Regions from separate parts of the Homo sapiens genome. Here region 2 is linked to region 1. The links are contacts of gene promoters, found by promoter capture Hi-C in human tissues and cell types (Jung and others, 2019). All regions are on one chromosome and are shown on one strand. The core of a region is centred on a gene start or on the middle of the fragment in contact, and the rest is flanking DNA. Distances in the headings are between cores, read along the strand shown.

Region 1 (7,814 bases), core at 3,471-5,970:
CAGGAGTTCAAGACCAGCCTGGCCAACATGGTGAAACCCTGTCTGTACTGGAAAAAAAAAAAAATACAAAAGTTAGCTGGGCGTGGTAGTGTGCACCTGTAATCCCAGCTACTCGGGAGGCTGAGGCAGGAGAATTGCTTGAACCCAGGAGGCGGAGGTTGCAGTGAGCCAAGATCGTGCCACCGCACTCCAGCCTGGGGGACAGAGAAAGACTCCATCTTAAAAAAAAAAAAAAAATCAGTCTGCAAGAACAAACCTCGTCCCCACATCTGAGTATCAGGGAAGCGCAATATACTCCATGGGATAGCCCTTGGCCAAGAGGGTATCAGATCCATGCGTAAACCTCCCCTCTTCTGTTGCAGTCTACACAGCCCCTCTGAAGGGCTTGATGGGATTGAGCCTCCATTGCCCACTGTGGTGACTAGCTGGAGAAGGCCCCCATTTTGTGGCTTTCCTGCCTTCCCTGTCTCACTTTCCCCTGTCTCAACTTCTCTTCTCTAGGATCATGGTCCATATAAACCAACTGCACACAAGCCCTCTTCCAGGCTCTGTTCAACAGGAGACCAGTCCAAAGCAGGGGCTAAATAACAAACAAAGCAGTCCTTCTCTTGTGACAGTAATAACCAACTCTAATTTATCTTCTAGTAAATTATATATGTATTTTATTATATATATAATAAATTTATATATATAATTATATATATTTATATGTATTATATGTAATATATATATTTTTTTGAGATGGAGTCTCGCTCTGTCACCCAGGCTGGAGTGCAGTAGCGTGATCTTGGCTCACTGCAACGTCTGCCTCCCAGGTTCAAGCGATTCTCCTGCCTCAGCCTCTGGAGTAACTGGATTACAGGTGCCCGCCACCACACCCGGCTAATTTTTGTATTTTTAGTAGAGACAAGTTTTCACCACAGTGGCCAGGCTGGTCTTAAACTCCTGACCTCAAGTGATCTGTCCACCTCGGCCTCCCAAAGTGCTAAGGTTACAGGTGTGAGCCACCACACTTGGCTAATTGTATTTTTTTTCTACTTTTCAAAAACTATTATATATACATAAAATTTATATATGTATATATATGAAAATTTATATAAGCCCAGAGAAGAAAAAGTTATATATAACTTTGTAGTAATAGTTATGTAGTAAAATATGTCATATTATGTGTATGTATAAACAAGTGATTTCTATGATTATAAGGAATTTTTTTCTACATAACAACTATTAATACATGATCAAGAAAGTGGTGGTAACAATTTGAGTTGCAGGTGGAATACAGAAAGGCTGCCTTCTCAGGCCTTACCTTTGTCCACTCAGCCTCACTAAGCTTCTCTACCCAAACCTTCACACCTAGTTCTTGCCACTCCTGCAAAAAAGCATACCTAGACTTATATTCCAGCCTCCAGAATGCCCCCTTTTCCCTAGATCTGGCCTTGAAACAGATCTTTTGTTCCAAGCATTCCTGTACCTTTCTGTCTTTTACCTTTAGGGTCTATAAACCAGAGGTCAGCTGAAGGTCTTGAAAGTCAATGAACCTCATGGCCATGTACAGGGAGGGCTCACACCTGTAATCCCAGTGCTTTGGAAGGCCGAGGTCGGCAGATCACCTGAGGTCAGGAGTTCGAGACTAGCCTGACCAACATGGTGAAACCCTGTCTCTACTAAAAATACAAAATTAGCCGGGCATGGTGGCACATGCCTATAATCCCAGCTACTCAGGAGGCTGAGGTAGGAGAATTGCTTGAACCCGGGAGGCAGAGGTTTCAGTGAGCCAAGATCGTGCCATTACACTCTAGCCTGGGCAACAAGAGTGAAACTCTGTCTCAAAAAAAAAGAAAGAAAGTCACTGAACTTCAGAGGAAGAGGCCAGAATTCGAGCTTTGCCACTAACTGGTAGATGGCCATGGACAAGCTGAATAACCTCTCTGGGCCTCAGTTTCCATATCTGCAAAAATCAGCCAGCGGTACCGGATGCTCATTAGGTCCCTTTCCAGTTCCACATTCTTGTACTAATGTAATTTCCTGCTCATGAAAAACATCTACTACTAGAAAAGAACTTCCATGTTTGGTGTTCAATATAATGGGATGTTGCCCTTATTTCAAAAGTGGAGTAGCTGGAAAGATCAAGAAAAAATATAAAATTAGGAAACACATCTAATAAATCCCCAAAGACTTGTTAAATGACCACAAAAGAAAAAAAAAGGCAAAACATTGCCACTATTTTTGTACACACACACACACACCACCCACACCCACATACACACATGCAGGAGTTTTTATTGAGAATGTAACTTCATTCAACAGTCTGAAATAAGTAATGCCTCATCACACTTCTGGTAATGATGATTCTTTCAATTGTCTCCACAGATTCAAGTCTCAAGCTCTACCACTGACCAGCTGGGCAACCTTGGCCCCTTAGCATCTTAGGACTTCACTTTCCTTGGTTGTAAAATTCAGAATTGGATCTCTTCTAATTCTAACAATCTAAACATTTTTTAAAAATCCTTTACATCTTATAGGTATTTCATGTGAACCCCACAAAAATTATTCACAGCAGGAATTTTCTTTGTTATGTTATGGACAAGAAATGAAGATGCAGAGGGTTCAATAACTTGCCCAAGGTCATCCCCAGGCTCTGGCTCTTAGGTTTTCTAACCCCATAGCTATGAAGAGCTTGCCTTTCACGTAGAAGGCTCTTTTTAGGAAATATTTTCTCATAATTTTAAAGCTTTTCAAGCCTATAGAAAAACTGAAAGAATAGTACAATAAGCTCCCCATATACTTAGATTCACCAGTTTGTAATTCACCAGTTATTAATATTTTGCCACAGTTGTTTTACCTTTCTTTCTCTCATTATCTATATATTTGCAGTCTTTCTTCAACCATTTGAGAGCAAATTGCAGACATCCTGACGCCTCACCCTGGGTACTTAAGCATGTATCTCCATAGAACAAAGATTTTATCCTTCGCAACCACAGTATCATTATCTCACCAAGAAACTGAACATTAATACAGTAACATAATAATGAGCAGTCAAATTGCCTCAGTTATCCCAAACCTGTTCCTCATAGCCTTTTTCCCCCTTGGATGAAGACACCAATCAAGACTCATGCACTACATTTGGTTAACACATTTCTTTAGTCTCTTTAATATAGAACAAGCCCTTCCCCACCCCTTTTTTCTTTCTTCCTTGGCACTGACATCTTTGACCAGTCCAAACTAATTGTCCAACAACTGGATTTGCTTGCTTATTTCCTCATGATTAGAACACTTCCTCAACAGGGAATATTTGGGAGCCCACTTTCACAAAAAGTGACACAAATACCATCTTCCCAGCTAATAAGAAGACCTCCCCCAACACCTCACCCCCGCACCCCCCCCACACACACACAGACTCACCTTTAGGCAAGAAGGGACCAGGATGAACAGAAGAGCCTCTCAGAAAAAGCCATCTCAAGAATTTGTCTGATGACTTAAAAGCAGAGGTTCTCAGATTGGACTGAGTAAGAAAACTTTCAGAACAACATATTAAGAAAACTGACAGAGAGGTGCCATCTCTTTATTTTGCCAGGGAAGAACATTTAAAAATAAACAAAAACTTACCACTTATTATCATTTCCCAAATCTATTGTAATTTCATAAATAAAGGTCATTTTAACATCAAAAGGTACAAATAACAATCTGAGCAAAGGTTCAAAAAAGGATAGTTTTTCAAAAGGGACAATTGACAACTTTCTACTGCTCATATGCAGACACATCTCACCCGGTCCTTTTATTTCTCCTTTTGCTATGGACTGTGAAAACTGACATGGAGGGGCACAAGAACTCTGAACCACTAATCTAAATGAAGCTCTCAGGAGCTAAATTACTAGTAATACTTGAAGGTGATCGCTGTGCTTTCCTTAATTCATCTGTCTTGTGCTAGCTGTGCAGTCTCTAGGAGAAAGGGCAGGCAGGGAGGCCTGGAGCGCCTGTAGCAGGTCACTACGAGCCATATCACCTGCTGAACTCAGAGTCCCCCCACTCTGCATTCTTACCTTCTCTGGAGCCTGGTGGCACAGCCCGAGCAGTGTCTCGGGTCTGGGGACACTGGCCCCTTCTCAGCCTTGCTACCTCCTGGCTGCTGCTTTCCAACCTCCTGGCCAGATTCTCATTTTCTTGCCTTAGTCGCTTCTTCTCTTCCTCCAGAACTGACTTGTCTCGGAGGAGGTTGCTGTAGGCAGTCTCCAACTCTCTGGTTTGGGTTTCCAGCTGGTCCCGCTCCCGCCTCAGGGTGCCCAGCTCCCTCTGCAGCCCCTCCTGGGTCTCCTGGGGCCTGGCAGCCTGGTCCAAGGTCAATTGGTGGAGGAGGCTCTCCAGGGAGCTGAGTCGAGCTTTGGTGGCCTCCAGGTCTAAGCGTTGGGTGCTGCTGTCTCTCTGTAAGTTATGGATGACTGACATGGCCTGGCTCTGCTCTGGGCAGCTGGATTCATTGGGACTGGCCACACTGAAGGTATACTGGCATCGGCCACTCTGGTCATTGGCCTTCCTGAGCTGAGCTGTCCTGGCCCCCACATCCCACACCAGGCAGGCCAGAAGCAGCAGCTGGACAGCTGGCATCTCAGGCCCAAAGCTGCAGCAACGTGCACAGAAGAACCTCATTGCAGAGGCTTGGTGAGGCTTCCTCTGGAAAGCTCTGCTGTGCTGAGAGGTGCCTGGATGGGTGGCCTTGCTGGCTCATGCCCGAGCTCCAGAGAGGTTTATATATACTGGGGAGCCAGCCCTTCATGGGGGAAGACAGAGGTGGCCACGTGAGGCTGGGTGGGGCTGTGCACAGGGGGGTTGCCTTCACGCTGCCAGCAAGATTCTTAGAAAATAACCTTCCAGAAGTCTGTTTGGAGTTTCTTTTTAAAAAGAACATCCCAATTTATGCACCCATACCCCAATAATAGTTCCTATATCTCCACCTGGTTTTACACACACACACACACACACACACACGTACACACACTTACACCAGGACTACTGGTGTGCTGATTTCAACAAGGATATATTTCTAGTTTATATTTCCATTCACTCTGCAAACTCATTGAGAACCTGCACTGTGCCAGGCACTATGCTAGGAACTGGAGATCCAAACAAGTCCTTTAAGACGTAGCAGGGACAGAGAAAAATAACAGCCAGCCAGAACACAAGGACAGCACCCTACCAGGCTCCAGGGAGAGCATTCCTATAGAAGCGGCAGATTTCCCCCCTCACCCCTAGCTTTAAAACAACTGTGTATCTTTGGGAGAACTTTCTAATTTCAGTCTTGCATCTCAGGCACCAATGTCAATGTTAGCCTCTAAATCAGTTCTTACTCTGTGTGTGTGCATGCCAAGAACCTCATTGGTGAAATCTGGGGAACTCTTCTCAGAAAGATGTTTTCAAATATATAAAATATAGATTACAAAGGAAACAAATGATAATGAAATATGATTATCAAAATATCAAAATTTTAAACATGTTTTATTAATATGTTAAAAACAAGATCCAGCAGGAGGTCTAATTTCAAAGTAGTTTTGAGTATAAATATTTCACTTACAACGTATCTGCAACAACTGTAATATAGTATAAAATGTCTGTGATTTCTATTGGTAATGACAAAATCACAGGTACTGTTATTACCACTTTGAGTTTATGGCTCTATTCGCAATGGAATAAAATGTTAAATTTAGTTAGAAGGTGGTAAAAACAAAAATGTAATTTTTTCCTCATTCAAATTCACAGGCTTTCTGGACTGTAGGTTAATAATCCCTGCTTTACATTAATAAACCCAAAGAGAAAAAACAAAAAGCAAATGGCAATAGCCAATAAATATACCAAAACTGTCAGAAGTAACTTTAAGCCACTTGAAATAATGATTGCCTTTGAGCAACTTTATGTTGTTAATACCAACAACAGTGTCAATACTTGTGAAGTAAATATTTCCAAACTGCCCTGGCAGACTCACCTCCAGAGTGGAGAAACACAGTTTGCTCTAAAGATTCTATTCTTATTTGATTGGTTCTGCAGTTAAGCCTGAACTTGAGACATTTACAAATGGGTGTTTGTTTACAGCTGACCAAAGGGTACTAGTCTCATTTTCTGAATCAGATAGTAAACATCGCTGAAATGATTTTTCAAAAAACCAATCATATAGTCAGCAAGACCTAGGCTTGAATCTGTTTGGCTTTACTCTTAGGAATGTTTTCTTCCTGTTAAAAGAAACGGGATTGCCCTTGTGCTGCTAACTCCACAGAGAAAAAGAGTTCCTAATAAGGAGAAACTAAGTAATCTTACAGCCTCAGTTACTACCTTGTGACTTGCTCAGAATTACTCAGCTTGTAAAGGAAAAATATAGTATTAGAAATCAGGTCTCCCGACTTCCCTTGAACTGATTTTTTCCCCCCACAATATAGCCCTGCCTCCTAGAACCCAGGATCACGTGGACTATAATCCCTGTGGTCAATTCCCACTGCCCTTGAATGAATCTGTCTTTCTTGCTCATACACTATCCCTCTCTTTTTCTTCTCCTCCCCTGCGCTGCAGGTCACTCCGTGCTGTCAGCAGTCACTGCTGAGCTGCGTGGGGTGCTGGTCAGGGTGAAAAGTTTAACAATCTCTGGCATTTTCCACTTGCTCTGGCCCAGTTTTTGAATGCCAGGCAAAAGCTACCACCAGTTAGTCTCTGCATTCTTTTTGGTTATTGGCAAATGCCATTGTCTATGCTTAGGGAAGGAAAATGTGGCTGTTGGGTTCATTGAGCTTTCCTGAAGCATTGTGGCTCTCGGTCCTGGAGTCTGACGTGATCAGTGAGGACTGATGGAGCACCCAGCTTCTGCCTGCCTTCCTGTCCCCCTCCACCTCCCCTGTGGCTCAGCTGCTCCAGCTCTGCCTCCTTCCCCTCTCAACATCCCCCCTCACAGAGAATCACAGGGAAGTGTTCACAGAACACGAGAGCTGCAAGGGTCTTTATAGCAGAGAAGACTATGGCCCAGGGAAGGAGAGACACTTGCCCACGGTCGCACAGCCAACCAATGGCAGAACCAGAAAGAAAACCGAGTCTCCTGATTCCAAGGTTTTCGACCGTCTTGCATAAGCCAAGTCCACCACAGGGCTGAGTAGTTGCCCAGAAGACATGAAAGAAAAGACTCCAGTCACTTCTTCCGTGAATTAACGGCCTAGGAAATGAGCTCGCTTCCTATATTCCCATTAAATAAAGGCCTTCGTGAAGGAAAACCCATGCACACCCTGGAATTTTAACAGCTGACTTTATGAAACTGCATCCCTTCATGAAATAGACTTCTTCTCCTCCAAGCAGAGAAAAGATAAAAAGGCTCACAGGAAGCAACGGAAAACTCCCAGCCCCGTGAACAACACTGAACATCTGGGCAGCTTCAGCCTTGCCCTTTTCACCTTCCTGCCTTTCAGCACCCGCTCAGCCCCAGCGTCCCCACTCCCTGCAGTCCCCACCTCCTGGAATTCTCCTGGACGTGGAGGCCCCTTTCCCTCTGAGGAAACACTGTCCCCTCCAGATTCTCCGTTAGACTAGTTTCCCTCTCCATTTCCTTTCTGGAGCCTGGAGCCAAGGAGTCTCCAGCTCAGATGCACCAGGACGATTCACGGGAAGCGAGGCAGGCCAGCTGCAGCGCTGTGACTGATGGAGGAGGAGGCTTGGAAGACTCGGGCTTGGGGGCCTCCGGGCACGATGGAGGCAGCAGGGGGCGCTAGGGAGGTGGCCTTGTTAAGGGATGCTGCGCACAATTCTTCAAGATGGTGTTTATTTCCTTTCTTTCAGCACTGGGTTTAAGT
Region 2 (6,851 bases), core at 3,769-6,268, 810 kb after region 1:
GAAAGGTTTTCTGAGGATGTAACACCTACACTATGTCTTAAATGAGTAGCTATCAAGGCCAGGTGGGACAATATATAAGCATTTCATCCCTCAGATTCTAAGAGATGACAGTCATTATGTTATGGGACTCTGTACTCACATTTACAGTTGTCATTAACCTAGCAAGATCTTGCAATGCACTTTGGGGATCTTGCAAATAATATCTGTTGCTTGATTTGCAATGAGCTCTGAGATTCCACTTCCTATAGGGTCTAATAGTAGTCTTAGCAGAAACCAGAAGTCTGGAAAAAGGTGAAGGAAATAATTTCAGTGAAGAACTTATATCTCTACTAAAAACAAACCTGCCCAAGAATTCTTCCATATCTGCCTCCCCTTGTCCAGGTCTTCCTCATCCCTTCAGACTGAGTACAAATTCCACTTCTAGGAAGCCTTTCCTGATTTCTCCAATCAGAAGTGGTCTCTCTGTTTTCTGAAGGCACAGAGGTATTAGTGCCTCTTGTATGATATCTAGTGTGTCCTACCTTAATTGCAGTTTCAGAAATGTACCTCACTCTCATACCTCAAAGATGTGAGGGATGGAGGGAGGAGCTGGAGCTTCAGGGGATATCACCCCCAGGGGTATCAGGAAGACATGGTAGAAAGTTGAATCAGCCCAAAGCAGAGGAGTCAATATCCACAGACATTTCCTCTCTAGTCTCTCTTCTCACTCCATTCAACCTCCCACCAGACAACCTGTCCATCCCAACCTACATTCACTTACCCGAAGCTGATTTGCTAGATTATTCTTCCAGGTTGTTGTATAGTGTTTCCTGGGCTTGCAACACCCTCACCATCCTTGTTCACTCCACAAACACCTACCCAAGCATTGCCTGTTTTTTTTTACCCTTCTCAGACCCTTCCCTCTCTGCCCCACCCCCAGTTAAGCTCAATGACCCCTTTCAGCTTCACTGGAGCCTCGATATATTTCTGTTGTAGCACCTTCAACACCATCATACTTCTTGATGTATAGGCTACTGGATGGTGAGCAGCTTGAGGTCACAAACTATGTCTTATTTATTTAAATGTCTCCAGTACCTAATGAATGGGTAAATGAATGAATTTGTATTCTTCTTTTGTCTTCCTTAGAAACTTCCTTCCAGAAACTTTGCTTTATTCGTCGGTATGACCCCCGTCACAGCACCCTTTACTTGGTAGCCTCACAATAGATGTTTACTGTTGAATGAATGAATCTAGTTATTCACACACATACTTTGACATACCAACCCACAACATTGTAATACTGAGTTGATTCTTTTTAGAATGCCCTATAAAAATGAAGTGTATTTTAAATGTTTCTCAAAAGAATCCAACTTTGTTAACAGTTTTTAGCCCTCAAACCCCCCATGATGCATCACCTAAGTGCCATATGTCTCTCACAGGATGAAGCTACTTGCAGAACAATCTGGCAAAGGTCATCCTAGGAGCACACCTCAGGAACTCCTCACTTTCTGTTCCTCCTCTTTCTGTTCCCCACACTTCCCAGGGCAACAGGAATGGGTCAAGGCACACCATGTAGTGATGGGCCAGCAAGCGGATCAAAGGAAAGAGAAGACTTCAGTCAATAGTCTTCTCACTGTGGCTTTCCTCTTCCCCATATTCTGCACTTTCTGTGACCATATCTCATGACTGATGTCAATGTGAATGAGGAAGGTTAAGAGAGAATCCCAAACATAAGTTTAGCCTCAAGTTCCTATATGCTTCCTAAGCAAACTTTTATCAGAGATGCAAATGAGAACCTCCTGAACCCAGGTGTAAATGCTCCAAAGTCCTCTCTTTAATGCTTTTGCAGAAATGAAGTCAGAATAAAAACCAGTGGTTACAGTGAGCAGACACGGTGCCCCTCCCCTTCCTCCACTGATTGCTTCTTCACCTACTGAGACAGCCTCTCTTTCCCAGAGGATTGAGGGGACTCAGGACTCACACACAAGCTTGAGTTCTGCTTGTGGCTTCAATCATTCTGCTTAGGAGGTACAGAAGGGCCAAATGGTGCTGGACCATGGATGCATGAGAGCTGTTTCTGGCCCAGAGTTAAGGCATGAGAAAGGAAGGCGATGCTTAGGAAAGGCCCGTGAAAAAAAGATTTGCAGAAGAGAAGTCTTCTCTTCATTCTTTCTTAGGCCATCAGAGATCCTCAGTCTATATGGTGGAGCCTTTTTATGAAATGGAAAAAATGGCCCACCTATAGGAGAATGCAACCCCTCAGACACAGGTGCTCAGGCTGGAAAGTAGAGACCCCACTGAATTTCAGGCCCCAGCCATCTCTGCCAGCTGTCTTTACATGTATACCACTGCATGCAGCAGCCTCAAGACCACCACCTAGCCTATGTCTCACTCCCTCCTGCCTAAACTCTCGGTACCTACCAGCTGCAGCACACTCCAGATTCAACACCCACCCTGGATGGGGCTGAGACCAGAGTGCCCATCTCTGTTTTACGGAAGGAAAAACTGTTACCTCTCTCACCCCTCCACTGCTTTCCTACATCTTTGCTGCCCTACATGCCCCACCATTTCCTCACCTCTCTCTGTCTCTCTTTCCCCTCAGGCCAGGAGGAACCAGTGTGACTCCATGCTGCTCAGAAACCAACAGCTGTGCTCCACATGTCAAGAAATGAAAATGGTAGGCAAGGGGGAAGACAGAAATGGGCACAGGCATCTCAGGGTGCAGCACTGCCCTTCCCAGCCAAGCCCTGTGGGGAGAGATAGTGACGGGGCCCGTTGCAAGGAGGGCCTAGATAAAGGCTGCCAAGGAGGAACTGTTGGTCCTGGGAGCAGCATCGACTGACAGAACATGATAAACCTTCTCCGTTTCAACAAGCTAAAGGGTAACCAGGATAGATGGGCCAGAGTAGAGATGCAATGAGACACTTCGCCTTGGGCTCCTAAGTAACTACAGCCTCTCAGAGGCTTAGGGGATTATGGAGCTCCTTCTCCCTCCTTAATGTAGCCCCCACACAACACATAGGCTCACACTCATTTCTCCACCGTTACAATCAGGAGACAAACAGCTTCATCTTTGGGTTTACTGTTAATTTAGGTAGCACCTCAAGAGAAAGACTGGGGAGAGAGTCTACAGTACTTTCTAGGTAGTCAGGGGCGGTGTCACCTGCTTTGGGTATTTGTAACATATAGTGGAGAATGGTGGTAGGGGAGGAATATTAGGAAAAGAAAGAAGGAAAGCAAGGGAGATGTGGAGGGAACAAAGACAAACTTCTGCCATGCCATCTATCACAGTTGCTGAATCAGAGGCCTGATTCAGGAAGGATGCTAGACTAGGCTGGAGTTAGGCCTTCGGTAATTTAAGAATTAGAGTTAGCGCTGGGATGGTTGTTAGCGTCAGGGTAAGGAAGAGGCTTTGGTTAAGGGTTAATTTAGCAACATGGTTAGGTTTGAGGTACGAGCTGGAGAAGGGTTTCTTCAACTCTGATATCCTATAATTCTCCTTTGACTTGGGGAGGAAGGTGGGGCTAAATGTGTAGGCTAAACGTGCTTTAAAAGAATGGAAGAAAAATAGAAGATATAAGAAAAGCTCCTTCACTGAGTTCATGGCAAGTCTTAGGTCCAGTCGGATGTGAAAGAGAGTGGCACTTTTGTGAAATTTTTATGTGGGATTTACAAATTTAACTGAAGCTACCGGCAAAGCTGCACCTTGATGTTGCCATCTATGTTCATTTTCTACATAATTAGGGTCACTGTGTTAAATATTAGCATTGGCTGGAGTCTGGGAAACTAGGATTGGGATTTCTCCTGGTCTTATTCCTGGAATCCCTTGTGTCCACATTTAGAATGCACCAACCCCAGGCCTAAGCTGGCCTTGGCCAGCTGGCACACTTGGGACATCAGCAGCCATCCTCTTTCTCAAGACCTCTTCTCTGACCTTTGCCCTTGTCCAGGAATGATAGAAGTGGAGCCACATGCTGCAATTTTACCATTTATTGAAGCTTCTAAAAGGAAGGGCTTCAAACACAAAAGTGCCCAGGGACCCTTCTGTACTGCTGTCAGAACCTGGTGATAAACTACAGAAAGTTAGAAAATAAACATGAAATATCCTTGCCTCACTCTATGCAGTAATACCTCAAAGTCCTCCCAAGGGGAGGGACTGCAGGTCTGCTGTAGTCACTGTGATACCCCTTCTTTCTCAGCAGTGAGTTGAATAGAAATACTGGGGAATATATAAAAAGACTCCTAGGAATAGAAGGGAACTTCCTCAACCTAATAAAGAGCAGCTTGAAAAACTAACAGCTAACACCCTACTTAATGGTAAAAGACTGGATACTTTCCCCTAAGATTAGAAACAGGGCAACAATGTCTGCTCCTGACACTTCTACTCAACATTTTACTATACATTCTAGCCAGAAAGATAAGAAAAAGAAATAAAATCCATCCACATTAGAAAGAAAGAAGTACAACTAGTCTATTTGCAGATGATATGCTCTTATATAGCGAAAGTCCTAAGGAATGCACAGAAAACTATTAGAGCTAATAAATGAGTACAGCAGTGTTGAGGATACAAGATCAGTATATAAACCTTAATTTCTATTAATAGCAGTGAACAACCCAAAAATGAAGAAAACAATGCCATTTGTAATAGCATCAAAAATTATTTAGGAATAAATTTAACACGAGAAGCACAAGAGCTATACAATGAAAAGTATAAAACATTGTGGAAAGAAAATTTAAAAGGCCTAAATAAATGGAAAGAACCCCATGTTTATAGATTGGAACACTTAATATTGTAAAGATGAATATACTCCGCCAAACTGATCTACATATTTAATGTAATCCTCAAAATCCCAGATGCCATTTTTATAGAAATTTGCAATCATATCTTAAAATTTATATTAAAATGCAAGAGATCCAGGATAGCCAAACAATCTTTAAAAAGAAGAACGAAGTTGGAGGTCTCATACTTCTTGATTTTAAAACTAACTACAAAGCTATGGTCAGGACTGTGTGGTACTGCCATAAAGATAGACAAATAGATAAATGGAATAAAATTGAAAGTTCAGAAGTAAATTCTTATGTTTATAAACAATTGATTTTTGACAAAGGCACCAAGACAGTTCAATGAGGAAAGAATAGTATTTTCAATAAGTGGTACGGGGGCAGCTGCATAGATACATGCAAAAGAATGAATTTGTACCTCTTCCTCACACCATGTACAAAAATAACTCAAAATAGGTCAAAGAGCTAAATGTAAGACCTAAAACCATAAAACTCTTAGAAGAAAACATAGGTATAAAGCTTCATGACCTTGGATAAGGCAATGGTTTCTAAGATAGGACACCCAAAGCACAAACAACAAAAGGATATAGATAAATCAGTCTTCATAAAAATTTTAAACTTTTGTTCCACAAAGAACACCATCAAGAACACGAAAAGACAACCCAAATATTTGCAAATCAACAGATGAAGGATTATGTCAGATAAGGGACTAGTATCTGGAATATATAAGGAACACTTAAAACTCAACAATAAAAAGGCAAACACTCTAGTTGAAAAGTGAGCAAAAAGTTTCAATAGACATTCTCTAAAGAAGATCTACAAATGACCAATAAACACATGAAAAGATACTCAACATTATTTGTTGTAAAGCAAATGCAAATCAAAACCACAATGAGACACACTTTCCATCCACTAGGATGGTTGTAATAATAATAATAATAAAACGGTGGATAATAACAAGTGTTGGCCAGGATGTGGAGAAATTAGAAGCCTCAAAAATTGCTGATGGGAATGTAAAACAGTACAGTTGCTTTGGAAAACAGTTTGGGAATTCCTCAAAACCTTAGACACAGAGTTACCATATGACCCAGCAATTCCATTCCTAGATATGTACCCAAGAGAACTAAAAACATATTCACACACAAAATTCTACAAGAATGCACATAGCAGCCATATCTTAATAGCTGAAAAGTGGAAATAACCCAAATGCCTAGGGCTTGATTAATGGATAAACAAAACGTTGTCTATCTATATAATAGAATATTAATCATAAAAAAGAATGAAATACTAAAACATGCTATAACATGGATGAACCTTGAAAACATTTTGCTAAGTAAAAGAAACCAGATGCAAAAGATCACATATTATACTGGTTCCATTTATATGAAATGTCCAAAATAGGAAAATTCAGAGACAGAAAATAGACAGTGGTTGTCAAAGATTGGGGAGAGGAGTGAGTGAGAAGCAATTGCTAATAGGTATGTGGTTTCTTTTTGGGGTCATGAACTGTTCTAGGAATAAACAATGGTGGTTGTTTTACAACTTTCTGAATATACTAAAAACTACTAAATTGCACATTAAGATGGTGACTTATGATACATGATATCATAAACACCGATAAAAAGAAATTAGCACTAAATAAAAGCACAAAATAGATGAATCTCAAAAAAATGTAAATAGGACCTGGTTATGTAACTACTCATATTCCTATGTAACCTTGGGCTAGAAGCTCAATCATTCAGTGCAGAAGAAATACCTGCTGACAGTTATGGTTGTGAATCACCAGTGATATTTGCCTTGGTTTTATCTAGGCTGTGTTTCATCATGTCTCTGCTCCAAACAGCTCATCTTCCCCTTAATGCACCTATTCTGTAGTCCTTCTGTTATCTGCATTACTCTCTAATTAACACCTTCAAGCCCCTTAAAAGTAGGACCATCAAGCTAGACAACTGTAAACAGATATTCTCTAACATATATTAAAAAATAGTTTCAAAATAAATTAAGTTTATTTCAACAAATATTGATTGATTGTCTGCCATGGGCCAGGTACTTAGGTAAACTACAAAGAAAAAAAAAGAAATACATAAGAC

The links. Contacts are between HindIII fragments. The study calls those that stand out against the background at their distance.
Region 2: a contact is called between a fragment that was not itself captured here and the fragment with the promoter of MYOC in region 1, in 1 of the 25 tissues and cell types used here (hippocampus).

What each region holds. Positions count from the first base shown.
Region 1 is chr1:171,647,968-171,655,781 of GRCh38, forward strand. It overlaps MYOC (myocilin), which reads right to left and starts at 4,721. Exons shown (of 3, transcript NM_000261.2): 1 at 4,041-4,721. The coding sequence starts at 4,644. The HindIII fragment of the contact is 9,045 bases long and covers 2,031-7,814 here.
Region 2 is chr1:172,453,834-172,460,684 of GRCh38, forward strand. C1orf105 (chromosome 1 open reading frame 105) reads left to right here. Exons shown (of 7, transcript NM_139240.4): 4 at 2,582-2,656. Among named protein-coding and RNA genes, the nearest start is that of PIGC, 13 kb to the left of the region's middle. The HindIII fragment of the contact is 4,092 bases long and covers 2,973-6,851 here.